Regions from separate parts of the Homo sapiens genome. Here regions 1, 2, 3 and 4 are each linked to region 5. The links are contacts of gene promoters, found by promoter capture Hi-C in blood cells and fetal thymus (Javierre and others, 2016). All regions are on one chromosome and are shown on one strand. The core of a region is centred on a gene start or on the middle of the fragment in contact, and the rest is flanking DNA. Distances in the headings are between cores, read along the strand shown.

Region 1 (5,093 bases), core at 1,312-3,811, 530 kb after region 5:
AATAGAAAACAATTAGATTAAAGTCTGAATACACTAAATGTAAACAATCAAGCTTCAGTTAAAAGGCAAAGACTTTCAGGTTGGGGTAATAGAATAAGAAAACTGTGTATTAGGGTTCAATCGGAGAAGCACAACCACTATGAAAAACAAAGAATGAGGGGTTTATTGTAGGATTAGATTTGACACCATAATAGTAACTGGTGGAGGAGTCTATGCTGTGTTATTGTCAGCATCTAGTGCAGAGCTGAAGCCGCTATGGGTCAGCCTAACCAGTAGTGTGGAAGGAGTACTGGATATGAACAAGAACATGGGCAAAGGGGAATCTAAAAAGGACAACTGGAATTCCTGAGGACAAACTAGAACACACGTCTATTTCTCACTGACATCAGCAGTTGCCATGGCATTGCACATACTCTTGGCCCATGAATTATAAAAACTGAAGGAAAGATCCTCAGGCCCGTTGCCTCCTCACTCCACTATCAGATCAGTGACAACCTGTGCAAGTTGCAATAGTGCCTGGTACGCTGCACTGGCTACTGCTTCACTTCTGCCTTCCAAATTGCATACAAAGTCTTCTTGTCTTCAACAGTGATGAAGAACTGTACTAGGAAAGAAATTCTGGTAAATACAGTTACAGTTTAGCTAATTTCACATAGTACAAAGCCACCACAGTCTACATCTTGGCATCTATACACACTTTTTCTGTAAACATTCTTAACTGACAATAACAAAGTCATGTTTCCAGCTAAGATGATCAGTTTCCTTCATAAACTTAAGCAACCCTTGCAGGACAGGAGGATATAAAGTCACTCCTAGCTGAATCACACTATAATGATCCTGTAATGTAAATCCTATAAGGTTAATTACCATTGGCACAAAGTATATTCGATGGTAGAGGAGTGGGGAGGGAGAGAAAAAAGATGTTTAATATACAAAAACATATTCAAAAGAAGAAATAACTATTCCAACCCTCATTTCTGCCCCTTATTCACATGGTCAAAGCTGTTTATTACAACAGGTCCTTCAATAATGTTTAGTTATAACATTAATGAGAAAAATTCTCTTTCCAGCTGGTGCCACTGTCGATGTGGAGTTTTCATGTTCTCCCCATGTTTATGTGGGTTTTCTCCAGGTACTCCAGTTTCCTCCCACATCCCAAAGCGGTGTACAGGAGGAGAATTGTTGCAGCTACATTTTCCCAGTCTGAGTGAATATAGGTGTCATGTGAGCATGCCCTATCATAGAATGGCCACCTGTCTAGGCGATTCCCGCCTAGAGCTCTGAGCTACTGGGATGGGCTTCAGCCACCCATGGCCCTGAGCTAGAATATTTGGGTAAATAATTATCTTACTTATTTTTATTAATATTTCTTAAATGTATGTATAGCCCACATTTTTTTCAATGTTTAATATTAGAAGTGCTTTGGTCTTTATTTAGAACTTTGTTGATGTTTTCATGACCATAAATAGAGTCTGATTAAGGGATTTAACTCTTGTTTATATCAGCCTCTGGTAAAATTGTTTTCTTCATACATCATTTCACTGAAAGGTGTAGTTTCCAAGAACCTGTTGACAACCTTAAGTTAGGACTTACTGTACTTCCTTCTTCCACTATCTATGCCATGTTTCCTTTGCCTTCAGCAGCCACCCAGGCTTTCATGATTCCTATCTGGTGAGGTGACCCACATCTTCATTTTTAAGGGTCTGGGTTGTTAGCAGTCCTGTCTGTAGGGGATAGTTATAGTTTGACTTTAATCACTGGGCAAGGGAGTACTGTGAGATGCCCCAGGGGACCTCATACATTCCAGACATACTGCTTACCTAATTGTGTAATAGTGATCTGATTGCTTCTTCTTTTTTGAGACAGGGTCTCAGTCTGTCACCCAGGCTGGAGTGAAGTGGCACAAATCATGGCTCACTACAGCCTTGACCTCCTGGGCCCAAGTGATCTTCCTGCCTCAGCCTCCCAAACATCTGGGACTACAGGTGTATACCACCTCACCTGGCTGATTTTTTTTTTTTTTTGTAAAGACAGGGTCTCACTATGTTGTCCAGACTGTCCAGTTTCTTCTTGATAGGATTAGTCACCCCAGCTACTACAATAATTTCCTTCTTTTATTTACTGTTTCAGAAAGCTAAATATGGCTAAGTGCAGTTTCAACTCCTAATTCAGTGGCTCAATTAACATGTGCCCCCTTTACTAGTGGAAGCAAGGTAATCAATACCTTTAAACCTAATTAGATTAGAGAACTAATTCCAGAGAATCCAGAAATAATACAGACAATCCATCTGTAAGGTTCTATTCCACTTCTGGCTATCCACTGCTGAATAACAACCCACCTCGAAACATAGTGGCTGAAAACAATCATTTATTTCTGCTTACAGATTATTTATTTCTGCTTACAAGTCTTCAATTTTGGTAGTATTTGGCAGCAATGGCTTATATCTGCCCCATGCAGTGTCACCCAGGGCAGCTTGTCTGGGAGCTGAGAATCCACTTTCTTTCTTTTTTTTTTTTCTCTTTTTTATTTTGCCACATCTCACCTGAATGGGAAGCCACTTTCAAGATATCTCAGGCATATGGTTGACAAGTTGGTGCTAGTTGTCATATGCTAGATCACCCAGGGCTGTGGGCCAAGGCCTCAATTCTGCTCCACCTGGTCTTCAATATGGACTGCTTGTGCTCCCTCACAGCACTGTGGCTGGGTTCCAAGAGTGTCTGAAGAGAATCATGCAGAAACTGCATGGCCTTTTCTAACTGAGCCTGAGAAGTTACACAGGGTCAACTCCACTATAGGCTATTCATGGAAGCAGGCACCTACCTACCCAGACTCAAGGAATAGGGAGTTTAACTCTATCTTTTGATGAAGATGTAGTTTCTAGAAGAGCATGTGGGATGGGGACATACTGTTGAGGCCACCTTTGGAAAATAAAATCTACCACAGTATGCTACCTTAAAAATAAGGAATCAAGAAAACAAAGGAAAAAGCTGGTAAAAATGTATAATATGAGCACTAACAGCAAGAAATACTCCTAGAGATAAAGAAGGACTTTTGTTTTCTTTATTTTTGAGACGGAGTCTCGCTCTGTCGCCAGGCTGGAGTGCAGTATCTCAGCTCACTGCAATCTCTGCCTCCCGGGTTCAAGTGATTCTCGTGCCTTAGCATCCCACGTAGCTAGGACTACAGGCGCGTGCCACCACGCCCAGCTAATTTTTGTATTTTTAGTAGAGATGGGGTTTTACCATGTTGTCCAGGGTGGTATTGATCTCTTGACCTCGTGATCCGCCCACCTCAGCCTCCCAAAGTGCCAGGCCTGTGAGTCACTGCGCCCGGCCAAGAGGGACATTTTATATTGATAAGTTAAATTCACCAATAAGATTTTAACAGTTCCAGGCCAGGCATGGTGGCTCACGACTGTAATCCCAGCACTTTAGGAGGCCAAGGCAGAAGGATTGCTTGAGCCCAGGATTTGGAGACCAGCCGGGACAACATGACAAAACCCTGTCTACAAAAAATACAAATATTAGCCAGGCATGGTGGTGTGCACCTGTAGTCCCAGCTACTCAGGAGGCTGAGGTGGGCTGATTGAGCCCAGGAGGTTGAAGTTGCAGTGAGCCGTGATTGTGCCACTGCATTCCAGCCTGGGCAACAGAATGAGACCTGGTCTCAGGGGGAAAAAAAAAAGTGCATATTTGCTTATTTATTTTGAGACAGGATTTTCCCCAGTTGCCCAGGCTGCAGTACAGTGGCAAGATAATAACTCACTGCAGACTTCATCTCCCAGGCTCAAATGATCCTCCCACCTCAACCTCCTGAGTAGCTGAGACTACAGGCACACGCTACCACACCCAACTATTTTTTTTTTCAGCAGAGAGGAGATCTTGCTATGAATTTAATCTTTTTTTTTTTTTTTTTTTTTTTTTTTGAGACAGAGTCTTGCTCTGTTACCCAGGCTGGAGTGCAGTGGCATAATCTCAGCTCACTGCAGCCTCTGCCTCCCAGGTTCCAGCGATTCTTCTGCCTCAGCCTCCTGGGTAGCTGGGATTACAGGCGCCCTCTACCATGCCCGGCTAATTTTTGTATTTTTAGTAGAAACGGGGTTTCGCCATGTTGGCCAGGCTGGTCTCGAACTCCCAACCTCAGGTGATCTGCTGGCCTCAGCCTCCCAAAGTGCTGGGATTACAGGCGTGAGCTACCGTGCCTGGCCTTTTTTTTCTTTTCTTTCTTTCTTGCGTGGTGTGTGTGTGTGTGTGACAGTCTCACTCTGTCTCCCAGGCTGGAGTGCAGTTGTGCAATCAAGAATTTAATCTTTAAAGCCACTTCTAAAATAGTGAAGAGTGGGAGTGGGTTATGAACAACACATATAACCAGACAACATGTAAAGAACTCCTACAAATCAATAAGAAAATAATAAGCACCCCAATAAAAATTAGTAAGAGATTTGAAAAGGCATTTCTCAAAAGATGATATGAAAGGGCTGGGTATGGTGGCTCATGCCTGCAATACAGCACTTTGGGAAGCTGAGGCAGGAGGATCCCTTGAGACCAGACCAGGCAACATTGTGAGACCCTATCTCTACAAAATATTGAAAAAACTATCTGGATATGGTGACGTGCACCTGTAGTCTCAGCTACCCTGAAGGCTGAGGTGGGAGGATCACTTGAGCCCCGGAAGTCAAGTCTGCAGTGAGCCCCATGATTGTGCCACTGTACTCCAACCTGGGCAACAGCGAGACCCTATCTCAAAAAAAAAAAAAAAAAAAAAAAAAAAAGAGATACGCAAATAGCCCATAAGCATGTGAAAAGGTATTCAATATCATTAATAATCAAGGAAATGAAAATTAAAACAAAAATGAATACTACCACTGGGACTCGGAAACCAATACCTCAAGGTCTCTCTGACATTCTCACCCTCCACCCTCCCCTAGACTTTCCCAAATAAGAAAGAAATTTTCTGAAGTTCCTTTTTCTGCCTGAGATCCAGACCCGCCAAGGAGAACAATTGTTTTTTTCTTTCACACCCTGTAAGGCCAAGAATGTACACCTGAACAGACCCTTTCACAAGCTTATGTACAGATTAATCGCTGTTTCCT
Region 2 (5,194 bases), core at 1,975-4,474, 610 kb after region 5:
TTTGCTTAGCAGCTGTGTGGCCTTGGACAAGTTACTTACTCTCTGTGCCTCATCAGAAGAATGCGGATGACAACAGATACTTATAGGATTGCTATTCTGATTAAATGAATTGATATATGTAAAGCACATAGAACAGTGCCTAGCCAATACTAAGTAAGGTATAAATGTTTACATAGTTTTTCATATATGCCAAAGTTAAGTTCTTACAAAGTAAAAATTCATGCAGTTTGAACTAATTAAAATTTACTAAACAACTTTTTTTTTTTTAAAATAGGACCAAATAGAAGGAGAAAAAGTACCAAATACTTTGTTCCAAAGTGGTACAAAAGTTCGCTTTCTGCTGAGGCAGGGAGAGGGGTTTTGCTCTGTTGAATACTTGGGAGTCTTGGCTGACTTCCCTTGTGGGTGACACCTTGGCCCTCCTCTGTTCCTATGGGAACTCGGGTGACTTTTGAAACTTTAGCTTCCCCCTCCCTTACTGCGTCCCAAAAGGATGCTTACCTTGCTAAACTTCATGAAAGCCCAATCATGCTTTTTCTCTTCTCTCTTTCTTCTCTTTTTTTCCTTTATCTTCTTTCTCATTTTTTTCCCTTTCTTTCCCTGTCTTTAAACAACAGCAACAAAGAGATCACCAAACATGAACAATTTTAAACTGTTTTGTTATGTAATTCTCCTTAGTGTTATGCTAATTCATTGCGATAATGAGTAACTAGCTAGCTCCCCTCTGAGCTCTTAGCTGAAACCATAGATATGGGCTTGTTTACCTTTTGACCTTTTGTTTACCATTTGACCCTTAAAACTGGCTCTAGAACTTTGTTCTCCTCTTGAGCATTCATTTGTAATTTTAAAACTTGTTTAGCCAAATGGTACTTCTTTTCTAATTGCAGCTGTAAAGAAGAAAGTCCAGCTGTTGTTAAAAAGGAGGAAAAAGTGCTTCATGAATTATTTGGGACGGACATAAGGTGCTGTGCCAGAAATGAACTGGGCAGGGAATGCACCAGGCTGTTCACAATAGGTAACACTATAATATCATGCACTTTCATTTTCAGTGACCGGTTCTTAGCAACTATCAGGGACTAACAGTAACTGCGTAGGTGATCATTCAACTTCAGAAATCCTATCATTCCTTCAGGTCACAGTAAATGCAATATTATGGATTCTGTAAATGCTGATTTCTTCATAAAAGAGGAGTCAGTCTCTAAAAGCTTCTTTTATTAATGTGGTTAGTAATATTTGAGATGATGCTAAAGTCTTTGTTCAGAATGTTCAGGATATCTTTTGTGATGAGGCAAAAATCACTTTTTTTTTCTCACTTGGGATGTTTTCATCTCCTAGATCTAAATCAAACTCCTCAGACCACATTGCCACAATTATTTCTTAAAGTAGGGGAACCCTTATGGATAAGGTGCAAAGCTGTTCATGTGAACCATGGATTCGGGCTCACCTGGGAATTAGAAAACAAAGCACTCGAGGAGGTAATAGGACAAGTTTGTATTCTGAAAATGCAGGAACAATTAACTAATAGTCTGGATTGAAAACATTAAATGCAAACTCTGTTTTATTAAAACCTAGGGCAACTACTTTGAGATGAGTACCTATTCAACAAACAGAACTATGATACGGATTCTGTTTGCTTTTGTATCATCAGTGGCAAGAAACGACACCGGATACTACACTTGTTCCTCTTCAAAGCATCCCAGTCAATCAGCTTTGGTTACCATCGTAGGTAATGCAGGCTGCTCACACAATCTTTATTCCTATTTTTAGTCGCTGTAGTGTGGAATGTGAAGTATGTGGTACAAATTCTGATTTCAATATAATGCTACTATCAAACACTAAGAAAGAAACTGAGTTAGAATAGCTTTGCAAAGATAATCTGCCCACCCTCTTCCTTTTCCCGTTAAACCAGGCTCGCTTGAATGCCACTGTCTTTGCATATAACACATTGTAATATGACCATCTGTTTGTGTACTTTTATCCTCCAGTAGACTGTAAGTTTCTTAAGGACAAGAACAACTCATTCTATCCTTGTAGTTCCAGAACCTGACACAGAGCCTGACACAAAATGGACAATAAATACTAGTTCTAAGAACCAACTAACCGCACTGTTAGGGCAGTGAGCACTGAGAGACAGTACAAGCCCTTAGATGCACTGAAATTTTGGTGGGGTATGTAGGATCTGAAAATAACCACAGTTCAATAATCTCAGATTAGGGCACAGCGTTCAGCCATAATGAAAATGCCGAGAAATACAGCGATGCTCTTAGCAGATTAATAAGGAAGTGTTCCATAAGGCAACCTCGTGAATATTGCTAGCCAGATCGCTCTTTTATTTGTGCCTTGAGTTTATTTTACTCTCTCTCATCAATGGAAGAGTGGTGCTGGCTGAGAGCAGGGGCCAGACAGTCAATTATCTACATCCCATTCTTTTTCTTTCCTTCTTTCTTTTTTTAAACATTTCTTAACTTCGAAAGATGATGAGCTCAGGCTTAGAACTAGGGATAGGACTCCTGGGTTTTCACTTGGATTATCCAACCTGACCTGCAGCATGCCAACACTTGAGTTTTCCTGTGTTAAACTGATGAATACAAGTTTATTTTATCTTCTCAATACGTTTCCCTATGAATATTATTAACTAACTCATAAATGCCTATTTTTTCTTACAGAAAAGGGATTTATAAATGCTACCAATTCAAGTGAAGATTATGAAATTGACCAATATGAAGAGTTTTGTTTTTCTGTCAGGTTTAAAGCCTACCCACAAATCAGATGTACGTGGACCTTCTCTCGAAAATCATTTCCTTGTGAGCAAAAGGGTCTTGATAACGGATACAGGTGAGACCACAAAGGACTCTAAGATACCATTTTTAGCATAATTCTCCTTGCTTGTCGCCCTTGAGAAGGACAGTTTTATACTTATGGAAGCAAATTCACTTATGAGTTTAACTATTATTGAGTTGAAATTGGAGATAAGAAAACAATAAGCAGATGTGAGGATACAGTAGCAGTCTTACCATTACTTTAGATAATATAACCTGCTGCATGAAAACAGAAAGAACCGTATTAGTCTGGTCTAGTTTGAGTCTGGTTCTCTGGCATTTTCTGAGTCACAAGGTAGTTTTTACTTCCTGTTTGAGAGTGCGGTGTGTAGGACACTGAGTCTCCCCTAAAACATTTGCAGATGATTGAGGAAGTAAAACTCCTTAAAAACAGAAAAACATTACTCATAGGTGTATTGATTTAAATTTTCAAAAAATACATGCAGAAATAGCCCAATAGTAAGTGCTGAAGGAAAATGTTGTTTTCCTCGGGATTTGTATGAGAAACTATGCAAGATTCTTTTTTTTAAGAACAACAAATTTTCTTTTCTTTTTCTTTTTCTTTTTTTTTTTTTTTTTGAGATGAGGTCTCACTCTGTCACCTAGGCTATAGTGCAGTGGTGCAATATTGGCTCACTGCAACCTCCACCTCCCAGGCTCAAGTGATCCTCCCACCTCAGCCTCCCAAGTAGCTGGTACCACAGGTGCACACCACCACACCTGACTAATTTTTTGTATTTTTGGTAGAGACAGGGTTTTGCCATGTTGCGCAGGCTGGTCTCGGACTCTTGAGCTCAGGAGATTCACCCTACCTGGGCCTCCCAAAGTGCTGGGATTACAGGCGTGAGCCACTGCACCCAGCCGAAAGATTCTCTTGTGGGAGGAATTCTCCATTCCTTCTTTGGAAAACAAAAAACAACTTTCCCCTATATCTTCTATAGTTATGACATCTCTTGTCTCTTTAAACTAATGCTATGGAACATGGTTTTGGACTAGGCTATGAGACACTGAGACGCACATGTTATCTTTCAAACAAGTCAATGGACTAGAATAAATCATCCTTTCTCAGCATGTGGTCTGTTGAACAACTGTGTAAGAATCATCTGAGCAAATGTTTAAAATGTGGATTCCTGGCTCCCATTCCAGACATGCTGACTCAAAACTGGGGCAAAACGCTCAGACTCTGCTTTTTTAATGAGAACCTTTGGTGATTCCTATCACAGGTCTAGATCTGTGCTGTCCGGTACGGTAGCCACCAGCCACATGTGGCTATTGAGAGCTTGAAGTGTGTCTGGTCCAAATTGAGATGTACTCTAATTGTAAAATACACACTAGATTTTGAAGACTTAGTATGAAAAAAAGAATGTAAAATATATTATTAATAATTTTTATATTGGCCGGGCTCGGTGGGTCACACCTGTCATCCCAGCACTTTATGAAGCCAAGGCGGGTGGATCGCTTGATCCTAGGAGTTTGAGACCAGCCTGGATAACATGGCAAAATCCCATCTCTACAGAAAATACAAAAATGAGTTGAGTGTGGTGGTGTACACCTTTAGTCCCAGCTACTTGGGAGGCTGAGGTTGGAGGATTGATTGAGCCCAGGTGGTCGAGGCTGCAGTAGCCATGATCACGTCACCGCACTCCAGCCTGGATGCAGAGCAAGAACCTGCCTCAAAAAGAAAAAATAATAATAAAATTAAAACAATTTTTACATTGATTATATATTAAAATGATAGTATTTTGGATATATCGCATTCAGCGAAATATGTTATTAAACTTAATTTCACCTGCTTCCTTTTACTTTATACAGCCAACAGAATTTGTAAATGATGTACAAGGCTTGAAGTTGTGACTCACATTCTGTTTCATTGGCTAGCCCTGTTCTAGATGAAGAGTAGGAGTTCTTTTCACCTTGATTCCGCTAAGTGTTTGTTTCATGATTATTGTTACTCTTTATACCTAAAAGGGATTTGTACTAAAAGTCCCTTGTTGGGACTTTTAGAATCTCAGTGCAGGGTTTGCATGGAGTTGTCTACTGTCTCTTACTGAAACCCCCCAATGTTCAGAGCATTCATTTTTAAAGTAATTAAGAATGCAGACTGGTCTGGGAGCTGACTGAAACACACTCCCCCAAACTCAGGGTTTGTCAACAGTGGCGCTGCTGGCATGTTGAGCTGGATAATTCTTTGTTGTGAAGGACTGTCCTGTGCACTGTAGGATACTTTTCAGCATCCCGGGTCTCCTCCCACTGGATGCCAGGAGCACATTCCCTTTTCCCAGTGTGACCAAAAATATCTCCAGACACTGCCAAATTGAGAAAAATAACCCCTGGCATTTTTTTTTTTTTTTTTTTTGAGAACCATTGCCTTAGAG
Region 3 (5,395 bases), core at 2,386-4,885, 590 kb after region 5:
AAATTACTATTTTTTTAAAGACTAGAGAGAAAACATTACAGAGTGGAGCAGGAAAAGTTCTTACTTTCTGAGACTGTCTCAGATTATGAGATTACAAAGATGGCTGGACACATATATTACCTCCTGTCGCTATCTACAGACCACTCAAGTGACAGTAAAAAATGCTTTTTTTTTTTTTTTTTCCAGAGATGAGGTCTCACTGTGTCACCCAGGGGCTGGAGTGCAATGGTGCAATCACATCTCACTGCAGCCTCAACATCCCATGCCTGAGCGATCCTTTCCCACCTCAGCCTTCTGAGTAGCTGGGCTGGGACTATAGGCGCACACCACTATGCCCAGTTAATTTAAAAAAAATTTTTAGAGATATGCTTTTACTGGGTTGCCCAGGCTGGTCTCAAACTCCTGGCCTCAAGCAATCCACCCACCTCAGCCTCCCAAAGTGCTGGGATTACAGACATGAGCCACCAGGCTCGGCCAAAAAATGCTTTTAAAGAGATAAGCATATTTGTTGTTGTTGTTTTTTTTTTTTAGAGACGGAGTCTCGCTCTGTCGCCCAGGCTGGAGTGCAGTGGCACGATCTTGGCTCACTGCAAGCTCCGCCTCCCGGGTTTACGCTATTCTCCTGCCTCAGCCTCCCGAGTAGCTGGGACTGCAGGCGCCTGCCACCACGCCCGGCTAATTTTTGTATTTTTTTAGGTAGAGACGGGGTTTCACCACGTTAGCCAGGATGGTCTCGAGCTCCTGACCTCGTGATCCACCCGCCTCGGCCTCCCAAAGTGCTGGGATTACAGGTGTGAGCCACCACGCCCGGCCGCATATTTGTTAAGAGAATAGATCTTGGCCAGGCACAGTGGTTCATGCCTGTAATCCCAGCACTTTGGGAGGCCAAGGCAGCTGAATCACTTGAGGCCAGGAGTTTGAGACTAGCCTGGCCAGCAAGGTGAATGCTGTCTCTACTAAAAACACGAAAATTAGCTGGGCATGATGGCGCACACCCGTGATCCCAGCTACTTGGGAGGCTGAGGCAGGAGAATCACTCAAACCCCGGAGACAGAGGTTGCAGTGAGCAGTGATCGTGCCACTGCACTCCAGCCTCGGCAACAGATCAAGACTCTGTCTCAATTTAAAAAAAAGAGAGAGAGAGAGCGAGAGAGAGTAGATCTTAAATGTTCTCATCACCAAAAAAGAAAAAGAAAAAGATAAGTATACAAGCTGATGGATAGGTTAGTTAGCTTGTTTGGGGTATTCGTTTCACAATGTGTGTATGTATATGTGTATATACTTATATGTACATATATACTTAAATACATAAAGAGAAGCCCATATATATGTATATATACTTAATATATACATATACATACACACATTATATATAAATACACATATATTTTTATATATATATGAAAATTACATGATGTACACTGTGAATATATGATGTACACTGCAATTTTTATTTGCCAATTATACCTAATACCCCCAAAGAAACAAAGATATAAACATAGAAAGACAAAGAGGGTGGAGAAGGAGAAAGTAAAACTTTGAGAGCTTTAAAGCAGATAAAGCTGGGTGTAGTGGCTCACACCTATCATCCAACAACTTGGGAGGCCAAGGCAGGGGGATCACTTGAGTCCAGGAGTTTGAAGTCACTGTGTGCAACATAGCGAGATCCTGTCTCTTAAAAAAAAAATTAAAAAGAAGAAGCAGATGATGAAAGCTGAATTATAGTTGGGGGTTGAGAAAGCTGAGAAGCAGCCTGCTTTTCATTGCAGGACCCCACAATAGTATAACTTGCCAAGACCAGCTCGCAGGACACAGGCAGCAAGCAAGAGAGAGAATCTTCTCTGGGGAGTCGGACCAACCGGTGAGAAAAGACCTAAATATACACCTACAGAGATTGAGCCACAAGCCACATCATAGAGCTTAGGATAGACGCTCAGCACTTCATTCTTATATGTGAAGAGACTGTCAAAGATTGTCAGTCATTTGGGGAAAATATCTAAATCATGGGCAAACAGAAAGTAAAGAGGAGAGAAGGAATCAAAGAAATAATTCAAGAAAATGCCAAACAGAGGGATATGAATTTCTAGATTGAAAAGGCCCACTGAGTACCCAGCACAATGGATGAAAATAGACTCTCAGGAAGGCACATAATTTTGAAAATTTTAGTGCTGTGGTTTCAAAGAAAAGATTCTATAAGCACCCATAGAGAAAAAAAGAATATACCAGGCCGGGCACAGTGGCTTACACCTGTAATCCCAGCACTTTGGGAGGCAGAGGCGGGTGGATCACCTGAGGTCAGGAGTCCAAGACCAGCCTGGCTAACGTGGCGATACCCCGTCTCTACTAAAAATACAAAAAAAAAAAGAAAGAAAATTAGCCAGGCACGGTGACGGGCACCTGTAATCCCAGCCACTCGGGAGGCTGAGACAGGAGAATCACTTGAGCCTGGGAGGCGGAGCTTGCAGTGAGCCAAGAACGCGCCACTGCACTCCAGCCTGGGCGACAGAGCGAGACTCCATCTCAAAAAAAAAAAAAAAAAAAAAGGTAGAAATCTATATACAATAAAAAGTGCACACACACACACACACAAATCATGTATACAAATAATCATTTCCTCAGTCAAACTAGCCTCATTTCAAAAGCTTAAGAGCCACATGTAGCTAGTCGCTACCATATTAGACAGCACAGGCATAGAACATGTCCATCACTGCAGACTGTTTTATTGGACAGCCCTGCTCTAAGTATCTCTGCTCCTGATTTAAACTAGACTAAACTTGCATAAAATCAAATTTCCTACATACTTTCATAGTGGCCAATTTCCTCTGATTACACTTTGTTTTGTTGTTTGGTTGCAAGATAAATGCATGTTTTCTTTTTAAGGTGTGCATGTATCAACATTATCATTTTTATTTTGTTTTACAGTTGTTTTTTCTGCAATGATATTTGGGACTATTACAAATCAAGATCTGCCTGTGATCAAGTGTGTTTTAATCAATCATAAGAACAATGATTCATCAGTGGGGAAGTCATCATCATATCCCATGGTAAAGTAACATTAAAATTATACCTTTAGCTGTTTTTCTCTAGAGAACGTAATTTGTAAGTTATTGAAGCCTACCATGGCTAAATGGGCTTCTCTTTATGTATTTAAGTATATTATGGCCTCACATCTGGTACCAACAGAGCATCTATACTCCTAGCTCCCTGGCACTCCATTCCTTCAAGAACCGTATTCTTCATATGAGGATTTAGGAAGGACACTGATTGATAACTAGCATGAAGTAATGAGTAGAGTCGTCCCTTGGTATACAGCGGGGATGGTTCCAAGACTCTCACTAATACCAAAATCCATGGATACTCAAGTACCTGATATAAAATGGCTTGGTATTTGCATGTAACCTATGCAGATTCTGTATATTTTTGAGACAGTCTCATTCTGTTGACCAGGCTGGAGTATAGTGGCATGATCATAGCTCACTGCAGCCTCGCCCTCCCGGGCTCAAGCAATCCTCCCACTTCAACCTCCCAACTAGCTGGGACTAAAGGCACATGCCACCACACCTGGCTAATTTTTTTTATTTTTTGCAAAGATGGGGTCCCACTCTGTTGCCCAGGCTGATCTTGAACTCCTGGGCTCAACTGATCCTACCACCTAAGCCTCCCAAAGTGCTGGGATTACAGTCCTCAGCCACCATGCTTGACCCTCCTGTATACTTTTAAAATTATCTCTAGATTACTTATAATACCTAATACGATGCAAATGCTTTATAATACCTAAACAACTATGTGAATAGTTATTATACCCTATTGTTTAGGGAATAATGATGACAAGGGAAAAAAGTCGGTACATGTTCAGTACAGATGCAACCCCATTTTTTTCGGAATATTTTCAATCTGTGGTTGGTTGTATCCATGGATGCGGAACCCATGGTTACAGAGGGCCTACTGTATTTCCTTTTCTCCTTAAAGAGAATCCTGGCTTTTCTTCCAAGCCTGAATCCCTCACTTCCAGCTGCCCCCAGTATATAGGTAGATTTTCCATTTGCACATCAAAATCCACCTATGTCATTTATTTTATTTCATTTCTATTTCCCCAAGCCTGCTCTTATTCTTGTATTTATTGATTTCTGTTTATACCCCTGTTTAGTTCCCAGGCTTGAAAGCTCAGCATCATTTTGGACTACTTTCTTTCTATTACTTTCACATTTGGTCAGTTACCAAGTGTTGTCGATCCCCTTTAGGAGTTCTCATATAATCATCTCATATTCTCTAGTCTCACTGCCACTTCCCTAAGTCAAGCCCTCGTTAACTCCCTCATAATCACAGTGATATCCTAAGTGGCCTCTTCCTGCTACAATTCATCTCAGAGGTAGCTGCTGGGCTAGCCTCCCTGAAGCAGGCACATCCTTCATTGCCTGGCTCTGAACCCTCCATGATTTCCCATTACTTAGACTGATACCAAGATTGCTCAGTAATCTGGCTCTGGCTCCTTCAAGTTCCGACTTTGTTTTTCATGACTCCTCTCTTTTACGCTGTTCGTCTTGTTTTTCATTACCCCCTCTCTTGTGCTATTCCTACCCCTCTATTTTAAAAACATATATTTAGTAAATTTACTCAAGGGAAGCTTAAGTGATGGAGAACTGAAAATAGTAGAAATCAGCCAGGTACAGTAGCTCACACCTGTAATCCCAGCACTTTGGGAGGCCAAGGTGGGTGGATCGCTTGAGCTGAGGAGTTTGAGACCAGCCTGAGGAACATGGTGAAACCCCGTGTCTATCAAAAATACAACAACAACAAAAAAATTAACCAGCCATGGTGGTGTGCGCCTGTGGTCCCAGCTACTTGTGAGGCTGAGGCCGGAGGATCATCTGAACCAGGGAGGTGGAGGTTGCAGTGAGCCAAGATTGTGCCACTGCCCTCCAGCCTGCCTTGGCCTCCCAAAGTGTTGGGATTACAGGCATGAGCCACTGCTACTGGCTGATATATATCTCATATATATATATGATATATATCATAGATTTTTTTTTTGTAGAGACGGGTTTTGCCATGTTAGCCAGATGGGTCTCGAACTCCTGACCTCAGGTTATCCGCCCACCTTGGCCTCCCAAAGTGCTGGGATTACAGGCATGAGCCACTCACTGCACCTGGCTGGGAATCGCGTTTCAACATGAGCTTTGGAGGGGACACACATCCAAACCATATCACCAACTATTCCATATTCTTCAAATTTGCTTTTAAGAGATGACTATACTAAGGCACCAAGTATTCACAGCAGCTGAGTGAGATGTACTGTTTTTTTTTTCCTGTCAGTGATTAGAGAGCATAGGCAGGCAATCCACCATAACTCTAAAATTATCTCTCCTTACCAAATAGGTTCATTTATACCTCCCTTCCT
Region 4 (5,697 bases), core at 1,291-3,790, 560 kb after region 5:
CCTCCGGCCCAGCCGCCTCGCTCCTCCCCGCGCTCGCTCCTTCCATTGCCTCCCGCGCCCCTCCCCTCTTTCGCGCCCTCCGGACTCGCCCACTACTTGCCTGCGGCCCCGGCGTTTCCCACCCCGCGTCCTCTTCCCTCTTCTCCGAAGTCTCTCCTCTGGCTCGGGCCGCGGTCCCGAGTGGCGGCCCGGACTTCGCAGACGGCCTCGCCGAGGCGCTGCGCCGGGTCTGGGGCAGCTCGGCCCGCGCGCTCGGGTGCTGGGCCGTCCGTGGGAGTCTGCGGCCGCGAACTCGGCGCCAGGTGGCCAAGGACCTCTCCTGGCCCGGCCCTTGGATACTGTAGACACCTGGGTGTCGTCTTTAACTCTTCTTTTGAGGTTTTGATTTATGGAGGGAACTCTGATGGGAAAATGCGTCCGCGTTCTCCCCTAGAGCGAGTCATCCTCAATAACGATACCCCCCAGCCCCGCCGAATTTTGGTTGGATCAACGAATAGTTTACCTAGGAAATATTATGCAAACAGATTTACATATTAAAATACTAGCTGTCCCTTTCTTCTAGTCTCTTCTTATCCTGGCATAAACCCCAAAGGGGTTTTCAAGGACTCCGAGGACTGTCCCCAAAGAATCTGCTGGGTAGCATAGTTGTTATTGAAAAAAAAAATCTTCCCATCGGTTCGCGTCAGCTTTCTATTTGGAAAGATGAGAGGACTGAATCGAATTTGGGTTGAAGGCGACAGAGTTCTGGGTGCCCGGCAGCTCCGGTCCCTGTCCTAGGTCTGCAACCTTGGGACTGACACTCACCTCCCCCGGCCTCCGCGTCCTCATCTGTGCAGTGAGGGAGTCCGTCCGAGTCCCCTTCAGCTCTGAAATGCTAGGACTTGAAGTCTCTGTGGTAAATAGAGAAAATGCTTGCAATATAGAAGTGCAGGAATTATATCCAATAGCTTTTGTTACAAATAATTCTGAAATATAAAAAGTAAAAAATGGAAATCGGGGGAAAAGAGTTGAAAAACAAAGACATTTTAGTTCTTAAATAGTTATCTTTACTAGTTAGTAAATCTGTAATTTCAAATGTGTAGTACAATATGTTTTCCAGATTCCGTTAATACAAAATGTTAGCTTTCTATTATGTATGATATTAAGTAGTAAGTGCATTTTTCAGAAGCATAATGGGCTTTCTAAAGGTATAAGCATCAATACTTGCAACGATATTTAAGCTGCATGGAATTCTTTTCTATTTAGGAAAGAATTCAGAAATTTCTATGTCTCTCTCTCCAGATATTTCTAAATGAAGTATAATTGGCACACAGTAAATATGCACACATCTTAAGAGTACAATTTCATTAGTTTTCACATATGTACGTGCCCAAATAACCACGATCAGACTGAGATATAGAGCAATTCTAGCTCCACCCTCTCTGTCAGTACCCCCTCCCCAGGTAGCCACTATTCTGACTTCTGATGCCATGGATTGCTTTTGCCTATGTTTGAACTTCATGTAAACCAAACCATCATCGTGTGCTCTTTTATGTCCACCTTCTTTTACTCAACATTATAATAATAAGATTCAACCTTGTTCTCTGTAGCAGTGTTTTTTTTTTTAATTGCTGGTACCATTCCGTGGTATGAATAGATCTTATAATTTATTTTATCCATTATGTTCACGAAGCACATGGAAGTTGTTCCAATTTTGTGTAATTATGCATAGCACTGCTGTGAACATTGTTTTATATATGGTGGACATAAACACCAGTATAAAGGATTATGCCCACAAGTAGAATTCCTGGATCATAGGGAAGGGATATGTTCAGGTTTGGTAGATACCGTCAAACGGTTTTCCACAGTGGTTACACCAATTTCCACTCCCACTAGCAGTGTATGGCAGTTCCAGTTCCTCACATCTTTGCCAATACTTTGTATTATGGATTTTCTTGAATAAAGAAGGATAAAGTGAGAAGCTTAAACATGAGAACTTTAAAATGGTTAATAGCCTTAAATTCTTTGAATTAGAACATGGGATCCCAATTTCCCTTATATTGTAAACACTACTTTTTTTTTTTTTTTTTTTTTTGAGACGGAGTCTTGCTCTGTCACCCAGGCTGGAGTGTAGTGGCGCGATCTCAGCTCACTGCAACCTCCGCCTCCCAGGTTCAAGCGATTCTCCTGCCTCAGCCTCCTGAGTAGCTGGGATTACAGGTGCGTGCCACCGCACCCAGCTAATTTTTGTATTTTTAGTAGAGACGAGGTTTCACCATGTTGGCCAGGCTGGTCTCGAACTCCTGACCTTAGGCGATCCACCCACCTCAGCCTCCCAAAGCGCTGGGATTACAGGTATGAGCCACCACACCCGGCCATGCCCAGACTTCTATTCATCATTTATGAATAATGATGAAGCTTTCTAAGTGGCATTTGAAGGAGAGGAACATGTTCCCAATGGGCTTTTCTGCATTATCTGCTGATACTGGACAGAGAGAAGTATTTCAATATTTTAAGAGCTATGATACTACCTTTTTCATTAGTGTTAAAAAAAATTCGTATTCAAAGCCTTGAACTGCACATTTGAGTTGCCATTCTTTGCTCTTGTTGCTTATCTTAGTTTATTTGCCTTCTTGGAAACTCCTAGCCCAAGGGGGAATGATTCAGGAGAAAGTGGAGGGAAGGGACACTCAGCAAAGCTTGGTTTGGATTGGATGTGAGCCCAGACCTGCCGACCTGACATTAATGTCCCCTCTGACTCTGAAACTCTAGTTCTAATTTTTGCCATTATATAGGTGTAGATTGGATATTCATTTCTTTTTAGGTACTTCACGTCTATCTATAGTAAATTATCCTCTTAGGTTTAATTGTGAACTTCTTGCCTTACATTAAAAATGGATTAACTTTTTATAACTAAGAAGGCACTTTCAGTAACTCTTAGCTATTGGTAAATATTTGTTATTGGATTCTCCTGTTGTTTAAACTGAAAAACAATCAGGCAATGAGATATTAAATGGGAAGGAGGAAGACTTACTTATATTCCAAGGGAAGACTTCAGATAAGAAAAATGAAGAGAAAACATGCATTAGGAAGAAAAAATCTGTTTTTATTTAACAAACTTTAATTGAATACCCATTTTTTTCCTTCCTTCCTTCTTTCCTTCCTTCCTTTCTTTCTTTCTTTTTCTTTCTTTCTTTCGACAGTCTCCCTTTGTCATTGAGGCTGGAGTGCAGTGGTGTGATCACAGCTCACTGCAGCTTCAACCTCCTGGGCTCAAGCAAGCCTCCTACCTCAGCCTCCTGAGTACCTGGGACCACAGGCACGTGCCACCACACCTCATTAATTTTTTGAAAAATTTTTTGGTAGAGATGAGATCTCACTGTATTGCTCAGGCTAATCTTGAACTCCTGGGCTCAAGTGATCCTCCCAAAGTGCTAGGATTACAGGTGTGAGCTACCGTGCCTGACAGAATACCTATTTCTTGCTAGGCACAAGCAGTACAAAGATTAAAGAGATGGAGGTAGGGGAACTTGTGTATAAATAACCAATTTTATTTTTTTAAGAAATGTGTGGTCATTGCCTTTCCCCAGGAAAAGTATTTCAGTATGCTTTCTTTTATTAAACCTTCCAACACAGTTATTATGATTACTAAATATACATTAAAAATTGCATGAGTCTGGCTGGGTGCGATGGCTCATGCCTGTAATCCCAGCACTTTGGGAGGCTGAGGCAGGCAGATCACTTGAGGAGTTTGAGACCAGCCTGGCCAACATGGTGAAACCCTGTTTCTACTAAAAATACAAAAGTTAGCCAGGCGTGGTGGCAGACGCTTGTAATCCCAGCTACTTGGGAGGCTGAAGCAGGAGAATCACTTGAGCCTGGGAGGCAGAGGTTGCAGTGAGCCAAGATTGCGCCATTGCACTATACCCTTGGTGACAGAGTGCGACTCCATCTCAAAAAAAAAAAAATTGCATGCGTCAATGAAGGAAGCTTTAGCCTGGTCAGAAAAGGGATCCCAGTTTTTTGCCCCCTAAAACTACTTTTTAAATTTTTTTTGAGACAAGACCTGGCCCTATCACCCAGGCTGGAGTGCAGTGGTACAGTCTCGGCTCACTGCAACCTCTGCCTTACGGACTCAAGCAAGCCTCCTACCTCAACCTCCTGAGTTGTGGGACTACAGGCATGCACCATGACACCCGACTAATTTTTGTATTTTTTGTAGAGATGGGGTTTCACTGTATTGTCTAGGCTGGTCTTGAACTCCTGAGCTCAAGCAATCCTCCTGCCTCAGCCTCCCAAAGTGCTGGGATTACACATGTGAGCCAGTGCGCCCAGCCTAAAACTACTTAAAAATGGAGATATAGTACTGTATTTAATGCTTATGGGAAAGAAAATGCTCTTCCATTTAAAGTAAAAGGAACAAACTGTTCCAAAGCTAAATATGGTCATCTTTTAGGTCTTGGGAAGAAGCACTTTTCCAAATCATTCTTTAAGCAAAGGTATTGACCACATTTTACTCTGGGAGGGTATTCCTGCTCATTTGAGAAGCCCACAAAATGCCTCGGCTTCAACAACATATCCACGGTTCTTTGTGTTCCTCTCATCTCATCCTTGCATGACACTCGGCAAGCAGGGTGACAGTAACTAACCCCTATCATTCAAGTTCAAGATTACAGTCTTGCTGCCTCCCCACATACCTACCAGACATTGCCTTAATCTTTGGGCAAAGATTTTGATTTGACAAAAAGCAAATAATCTCAAGAGTATTGTATTTTATCATTTTTCTTAACTTTGAAAGGGATCTTGTAGATAACAGGAGTAAGAATTTGGAGAGGGGGCCGGGCAAGGTGGCTCATGCCTGTAATCCCAGCACTTTGGGAGGCCAAGGTGGGCAGATCACGAGGTCAAGAGATCAAGACCATCCTGGCCAACGTGATAAAACCCTGTCTCTACTAAAAATACAAAAATTAGCTGGGTGTGGTGGCGCACGCCTGTAGTTCCAGCTACTCAGGAGGCTGAGGCAGGAGAATCACTTGAACCTGGGAGGTGGAGGTTGCAGTGAGCCGAGATCATGCCACTGCATTCCAGCCTGGAGACAGAGCGAGACTCCTTCTCAAAAAAAAAAGAGAGGGGAAACTGAAGGGCTGGAAATTGGCTTAGCTTGGTCTTGACACTGTGCTGTATCCTTTATTCCCTCTGAAATAGCAAATTCTTGTGAACTTCACAGTAGGTGGTTTGTCTGAGTAGAGCTTTTTGGTTTTTTGTTTTTTCTTATATACCCAGACTGCTCACCTGCAAGCTTTTTGGTTTTTATCAGGAGACTTTGTGATCTTAAGATGTTTTTCTATGACTTCCAGAAAAGCTGTATCCACTTCTCAGGTAGTCACAGTTATAGGGTCGAAGATTTTTCTGTCTTTGGGGAATCTGCGAGTTTTATACCTAAGTGATTTAGTTATTCTTGGTTGATACTTTCTATGGCTGCATTATCAGTGGTTTTGAAGTAATGAAAGCTTTTGTAGAAGTCACTACTGGTCACTAATTTGACTCACGCAATTCTGTTCTATGAGTACCAACACATGTGAAGGAAATTTTAAAATAATATAAAAGTAGGCAGAGTGCAGTGGTTCACACCTGTATCCCCAGCACTTTGGGAGGCCTAGGTGGGAGGATCACTGGAGCCCAGGAGTTCAAGACCAGCCTGGGCAATACAGCGAGACC
Region 5 (5,034 bases), core at 34-2,533:
ATCTAATACAAAGCCTACTTTATTAAAAAGTACTGGGTATCTCATGTAATTTATTGAATACTGTACTGAAAGTGAAAAACAGAATGGCTGTATTGGTACTCAAATATGGCCTCTACTGACTGTGTATGGATTTCACACCATCATAAAGTCAGAAGATTGTTGAACCACCAGAAGTTGGGGACCTTCAGCAGAGATGTGTGATTGTTGCTTTCCAAATGTATCTTCTATTACTTCCCTATATGAACATTCTCCTCCTTCTGGACTGCTTTATTGTAAAGTAACAAGGTTTCAACGCACAAAGAAAAGGTGAATTCTGACTTCTGGATTCTGTTATTGTCATTTTTCCCAATTTCCTTCTGTAAAATATCAAGATTAGTACTTGCTGTTTCTAATAAAGGAAGGAGCCGAGAAAGGCAAATCTACGAAAACCTAACTACTAGTTACATTTGAGAGTGCCTAAAAAACTTTTTAGATAACGATTAGCAGTATTTACCAATAGAAACTTTCTAGATTTGGATGGATGGCCTACCAGCAGTACCGATATCAGAGTCTGTGGCAATGGTGACTCAGTGTTCTTCTCAAATACCACAACTTCTAAGTTAAAAAGAAAGAGAAAGTGGTGGGGAGGAGAAGGAGGGAGGAGATATACTAACAATACTGGCAAACAGGGAATAGCAACTGTCTGATTTTTTCCCCTCTAACATCTAGCACACTACAAGCTCTCAAAAAAGTTTGTAGAGCAAAGCTGCGTTACACAAATGCGACCTATAGTTGTGGGCTGTTTACTAGGCAGTTACAAGGGCGGGGGCTGGGGGAGATGAGGAGTCTGAGAGCTCTGGGCTCCCAGAGGTTACCCGTCAAGGAAAGGGTCGCCAGCGCCACCCCACAGAACGTTGCACTTTCACGGCTGCCTTTTCCACTTCTGCGCCAAGTAAGGGGAGGAGGTCTGGGCCTGCTGGGGTCTAAGGGATGGAAGGGCGCAAACCGAGCTAAGAGGAGCAGGATGAAGCCGAAGCACTGCTAGTGGGACTAGTGCCGGGCCCCGGCGACAGTCACGACCCACCCAAACCCCGTGACTCGACAGATTATGGCGCCTGAGGCCGGCCTCAGCCCCACGCTGCCGCCGCCGCCGCCACCGGGGACGGGTTGGGAGGCGACTGCCTGTTTCTGCCGAGCCACGGTCCCGAGCCCGCGTGGAACTCCAGCCGCCCGGGTACCCACTCACCATCTTCCGCAGCTCTGCGAACAGCCTCTCTGCCCCGTTACCGTCAGTCGACCCCGCCGCTCACTTCCGTTTCCGAGGGCTGGCCCCCACATCCGCCGGAAGTGCGTCCGTCCTGGCGAGGAAGGAAGGAGGGCGCGGGACGCCGGAGGGAGCTGCGCGGGGCCGAGGCTCCCACGCTTGCAATCCCAAGGGACCCAGGGCCAAGGGCGCAGTAAGGGTGTGGGCTGGGAGGAGGGAGGGGTCGGGACGAGACGTGCCTGAGGGGAGGGAAGACACGGACTCCGGTTTATTAATAAACATCTACGGTTTGTACGGCATTTTAAGATGTGCAGTGTGCTTTTGTAGGTACATCGCCTTATTTAACACAAAACCTCTCTGAGGTAGCTATTACATTTCACAGAAGGGTAAACGAGGCGTAGGTGGTTTGAGTGATTTGCTTGAGATCGTTCGGCTAATAAAGCAAAATTGGGACACAAGGCTTTTGTCATTTTTAAAAAACATAATATTGAAGGCCTGGTATGTTCCGAACCCTGTGCTGAGGCTAGGAATACAAAAAAGGACCAGGCCGGTGTGGCCTCTGGGCTAGAGGAGCAGGGGTACTCCGGAGGCTAGAGGGGAGAGAGGGGACGATAGTGACTACAAATTAAGTAAATGTGATCATGACCGACATATGTTGGGCCCTTTGAATTGCGTTATCAACACAGTTCTAAGTGCTTACATCCTTTATCTCTTTTAATCTTTTCAATAACCTTACAAGTACAATTTACAGGTGAAGAAACCGAGACATGAAGGGCTTAAATAAATATGCCTAAGGACATATTTATGAGTCTAGAATCCATGCTCATTACACTATTCTGTATTGTTCAAATATAATGTAATAAAACGGCCTTATAGTCTGCTGCCACAGGATGGAGACATCTTAGGGAATCTTTGGACTGACAGCTAAAAGATAAGAGCGAACTAGTTTGGGGTAGTAGGATATTTAAAACAACATTACGTGCAGATCTGCTTGTGCAAAAACGGAACTGGAAAGAAGGCCTAAGTCTGGCTAAAGTTCAGAAAGTAAAGTGGAGAGTACTGTGAGATGAGGTTGTAAGTAGATGGAGGCAAGTGGTTTTTGTTGTTGTTTTTGTTTGTTTGTTCTAAATAATGATAGGGTTTAGCTATGTTGCCCAGGTCTGCGTTGAACTCCTGGGCTCAAGCGATTCTCCTGCTGCAGCCGGCTGAGTAATGGGAACTACAGGCGTGCATCATGGGACCTAGCTACAGGTTTTTTATGCAGCCTTTGTAGGCAAGATTAAGGATGAGGCTTTGTCTTTAAAAAGCCATCGAAGGATTTGAGAGAGGAAAATGATAAGGCCATATATGTTATGTATATCCACTGCCATGGTCATACAACTTTGAAGTTCCAGATGTTATGTGTTCTGCCATGCTGTCCTTTAGGTGTCTTCTGGTCCTTCACAATAGCCATGTTTAATCCTGAGATTTGAGTTGGAGTGTTTCGTTTGCATCTTTTTTTCTTTCCGTCAATTCCACCTGAGAAATTGTAAAACTGCGAATCTTTTCTTAAAAATCATTTTAACATTTGCTGATTGCTCACAGTTCAATGAATATGTATTGAACATTTGCTTGGTACTAGATTCTGGAGCTATAAAGAAGAAAAGAGCAATTCCCTGTACCTGAGATGCTTATATATTTTCCTGGGGAAATAGACATGCAAACAGATATTTAAAATGCAGCATGGGCTGGGTGCAGTGGCTCACACCTGTAATCCTAGCACTTTGGGAGCTGGAAGCAGGCAGATCACTTGAGGTCAGTAGTTCGACACCAGCCTGGCCAACATGGCAAAAGCCCATCTCTACTAAAGATACAAAAAAAAAAATTAGCCAGACATCATGGTGCATGCTTGTAGTCCCAGCTATTCAGGAGACTGAGGCACGAGAGTCGCTTGAACCTGAGAGGTAGAGGTTGCAGTGAGCAGAGATCACGCCACTGCACTCCAGCCTAGGTGACACAGCAAGACTCCATCTCAAATAATAATAATAAAATAATAAAATGCAGTGTGATAAATGCTTGATAGAGAAAGGGGCTAAACCAGAAAGTTGTTGGGAGCAGGAGAAAACAGCATTCACGGAAGAGGAACATGTAAAGGCAAGAGATCTGTGAAAAGTCGTGTTGTTATCTGAGTAATGGAAAACATTTCCCTGTGGCTGGAGCTCTGGGTGAGCAGGTGAAGCAAAATGAGATGAGGTTGGAGGGACAGGTTGGGGCCAAAACGAAGGGCCTTCTATGGTATGCTGAGGTTTAGGGCTTTTTCTTATAGACAACAGGAGATAATGGAGGTCTTTTCACAAACATTTGGCATTAAAAAAAAAAAATTCTGGTGGCAGCATGAAGGACAGACTAAGATTGGGAGAAAGTAGGAACCAGGATACCATTTAAGCCACTAATGGTACGCTAAGGTAGTGTCACATACTGGAAAGGCTTTGAAAGGAAGGAAAAAGTAGGAGTGAACCTAAGAAATACCAGAATTCAAAAGACAGCCAGAAGAAGGGGAGCCTGCTTTAAAGGCTATGCCATCTTCGAATCAAAAGGGCAAGGAAGTATTGAGAGGTTAGAAAGTAGTTCAAAAGTAGCTAAAAAGGGATCATAAAGCCCTGAAAATAGGCTTTTGGTGACCAGTGTGAAGAGTTGTTTTAGTGGCTCAGCAAGGAGAAAATTCCCTTTATTTTGAGTCTTACACTCAAGTTTATGTCCTATTTTAAATGGTTTGTTACAGTATTAACTAATACGGGGTACTTTTGAGTATGCTAAATAAGAAGTAAATTAGATTTGATGCTGGAATGATTTAATTATGTTTACTTAAGCTTTATGTTAAATAGCTTAGAGGATAGAACATTAGTAATGATAGCTAACATTTGTTACATGTCAGGCCAGGGTTTAGTTTTTTGCATATATTGTTTCAATTAATCCTGTGAGGTAGATACTATCATTATGCACATTTCACAGAAAATGCTGAGGCATTGTATGAGAACAAGCACCCTATTTTGTTTTACTTTTTGTAGTCGTCTTTGACTTTACTCTTAAGTCAGTCTGGTGACATAGCTAGGTAAACTGAGGACAAATTCAGCTTCATTCACATCTGGCAAGAACCCTCCTCCCTCCTCCTAGCTCTTTCCCCATTTGTTACCTCATCTGTCTCCTGTTTGGGTACTATTCTTGTACTTCATCTTGTCAGCTGAATTTGGGTCTTCTGACCTAAATTTTAGTGCTCCCTAACGATCTAAAATTACACTTAACTTTGCTCTTTTCTGTTATTTGCCTAAGCTTGGCCCTGGGCACCCAAACCCTATTACCCAGCCTGCTTGGTTAGCCCCCTCTTAAAAGCTGCTTTGTCTCCACAGCACAGTGCCTTGCATACTTTAGGCAGGTACTCAGCAGGATTTTGAAATCTAGTATGTAGTGAGTGTCTCTTTAGAACTTAAGAAGCTGGAAGAGGCATAGAGAAGAGAGGTCTGAAAATGTCTCAGAGCTAAGGAAGATACGATGTTGAGATAAGGGAATGACCAGTGATGTCAGATAATGATTATGGGAAGATCGATGGGGTTTGGCAAATGGGATGTCATTTGCATAATCTTCTGGTGAGCAGTTTAACTATAAACCAGATTGTTAGGAATGAAGAATTTATAAGAAGAAAATGGAGGCAGCCAAATTTTATAGATCATTCTTTTCAGAAAGTTGTCCATTTCAAAAAATAGAATCAGGATTTTGGTTTGAATGAAAGTTGGGTTTTGTTTTTGTTTCATGTG

What was found. Contacts are between HindIII fragments. The CHiCAGO score rates a contact against its expected background, and 5 or more counts as called.
Region 1: a fragment that was not itself captured here is called in contact with the fragment with the promoter of POMP in region 5 in 4 of 17 cell types (naive CD8 T cells, total CD8 T cells, activated CD4 T cells and 1 more); the score reaches 7.0 in naive CD8 T cells.
Region 2: a contact is called between a fragment that was not itself captured here and the fragment with the promoter of POMP in region 5, in 1 of 17 cell types (megakaryocytes). The highest score is 5.4, in megakaryocytes.
Region 3: a fragment that was not itself captured here is called in contact with the fragment with the promoter of POMP in region 5 in 3 of 17 cell types (endothelial precursors, megakaryocytes and fetal thymus); the score reaches 6.3 in endothelial precursors.
Region 4: a contact is called between a fragment that was not itself captured here and the fragment with the promoter of POMP in region 5, in 1 of 17 cell types (fetal thymus). The highest score is 5.3, in fetal thymus.

The regions. Positions count from the first base shown.
Region 1 is chr13:28,125,826-28,130,918 of GRCh38, reverse strand. No RefSeq gene overlaps it. Among named protein-coding and RNA genes, the nearest start is that of PAN3, 10 kb to the left of the region's middle. The HindIII fragment of the contact is 5,013 bases long and covers 55-5,067 here.
Region 2 is chr13:28,045,916-28,051,109 of GRCh38, reverse strand. It overlaps FLT3 (fms related receptor tyrosine kinase 3), which reads left to right. Exons shown (of 24, transcript NM_004119.3): 6 at 888-1,015; 7 at 1,336-1,475; 8 at 1,573-1,726; 9 at 2,667-2,835. Among named protein-coding and RNA genes, the nearest start is that of FLT3, 52 kb to the left of the region's middle. RefSeq lists an enhancer at 269-1,036. The HindIII fragment of the contact is 4,034 bases long and covers 1,208-5,194 here.
Region 3 is chr13:28,068,140-28,073,534 of GRCh38, reverse strand. It overlaps FLT3 (fms related receptor tyrosine kinase 3), which reads left to right. Exons shown (of 24, transcript NM_004119.3): 2 at 2,923-3,044. It also overlaps the pseudogene KATNBL1P1. Among named protein-coding and RNA genes, the nearest start is that of FLT3, 30 kb to the left of the region's middle. The HindIII fragment of the contact is 1,982 bases long and covers 2,645-4,626 here.
Region 4 is chr13:28,094,692-28,100,388 of GRCh38, reverse strand. All of the region lies in intron 1 of FLT3 (fms related receptor tyrosine kinase 3), which reads left to right. Among named protein-coding and RNA genes, the nearest start is that of FLT3, 3.0 kb to the left of the region's middle. The HindIII fragment of the contact is 281 bases long and covers 2,400-2,680 here.
Region 5 is chr13:28,655,379-28,660,412 of GRCh38, reverse strand. POMP (proteasome maturation protein) reads right to left here and starts at 1,283. Exons shown (of 6, transcript NM_015932.6): 1 at 1,226-1,283. The coding sequence starts at 1,228. RefSeq lists a silencer at 1,351-1,410 and an enhancer at 1,631-1,790. The HindIII fragment of the contact is 5,788 bases long and covers 1-4,094 here.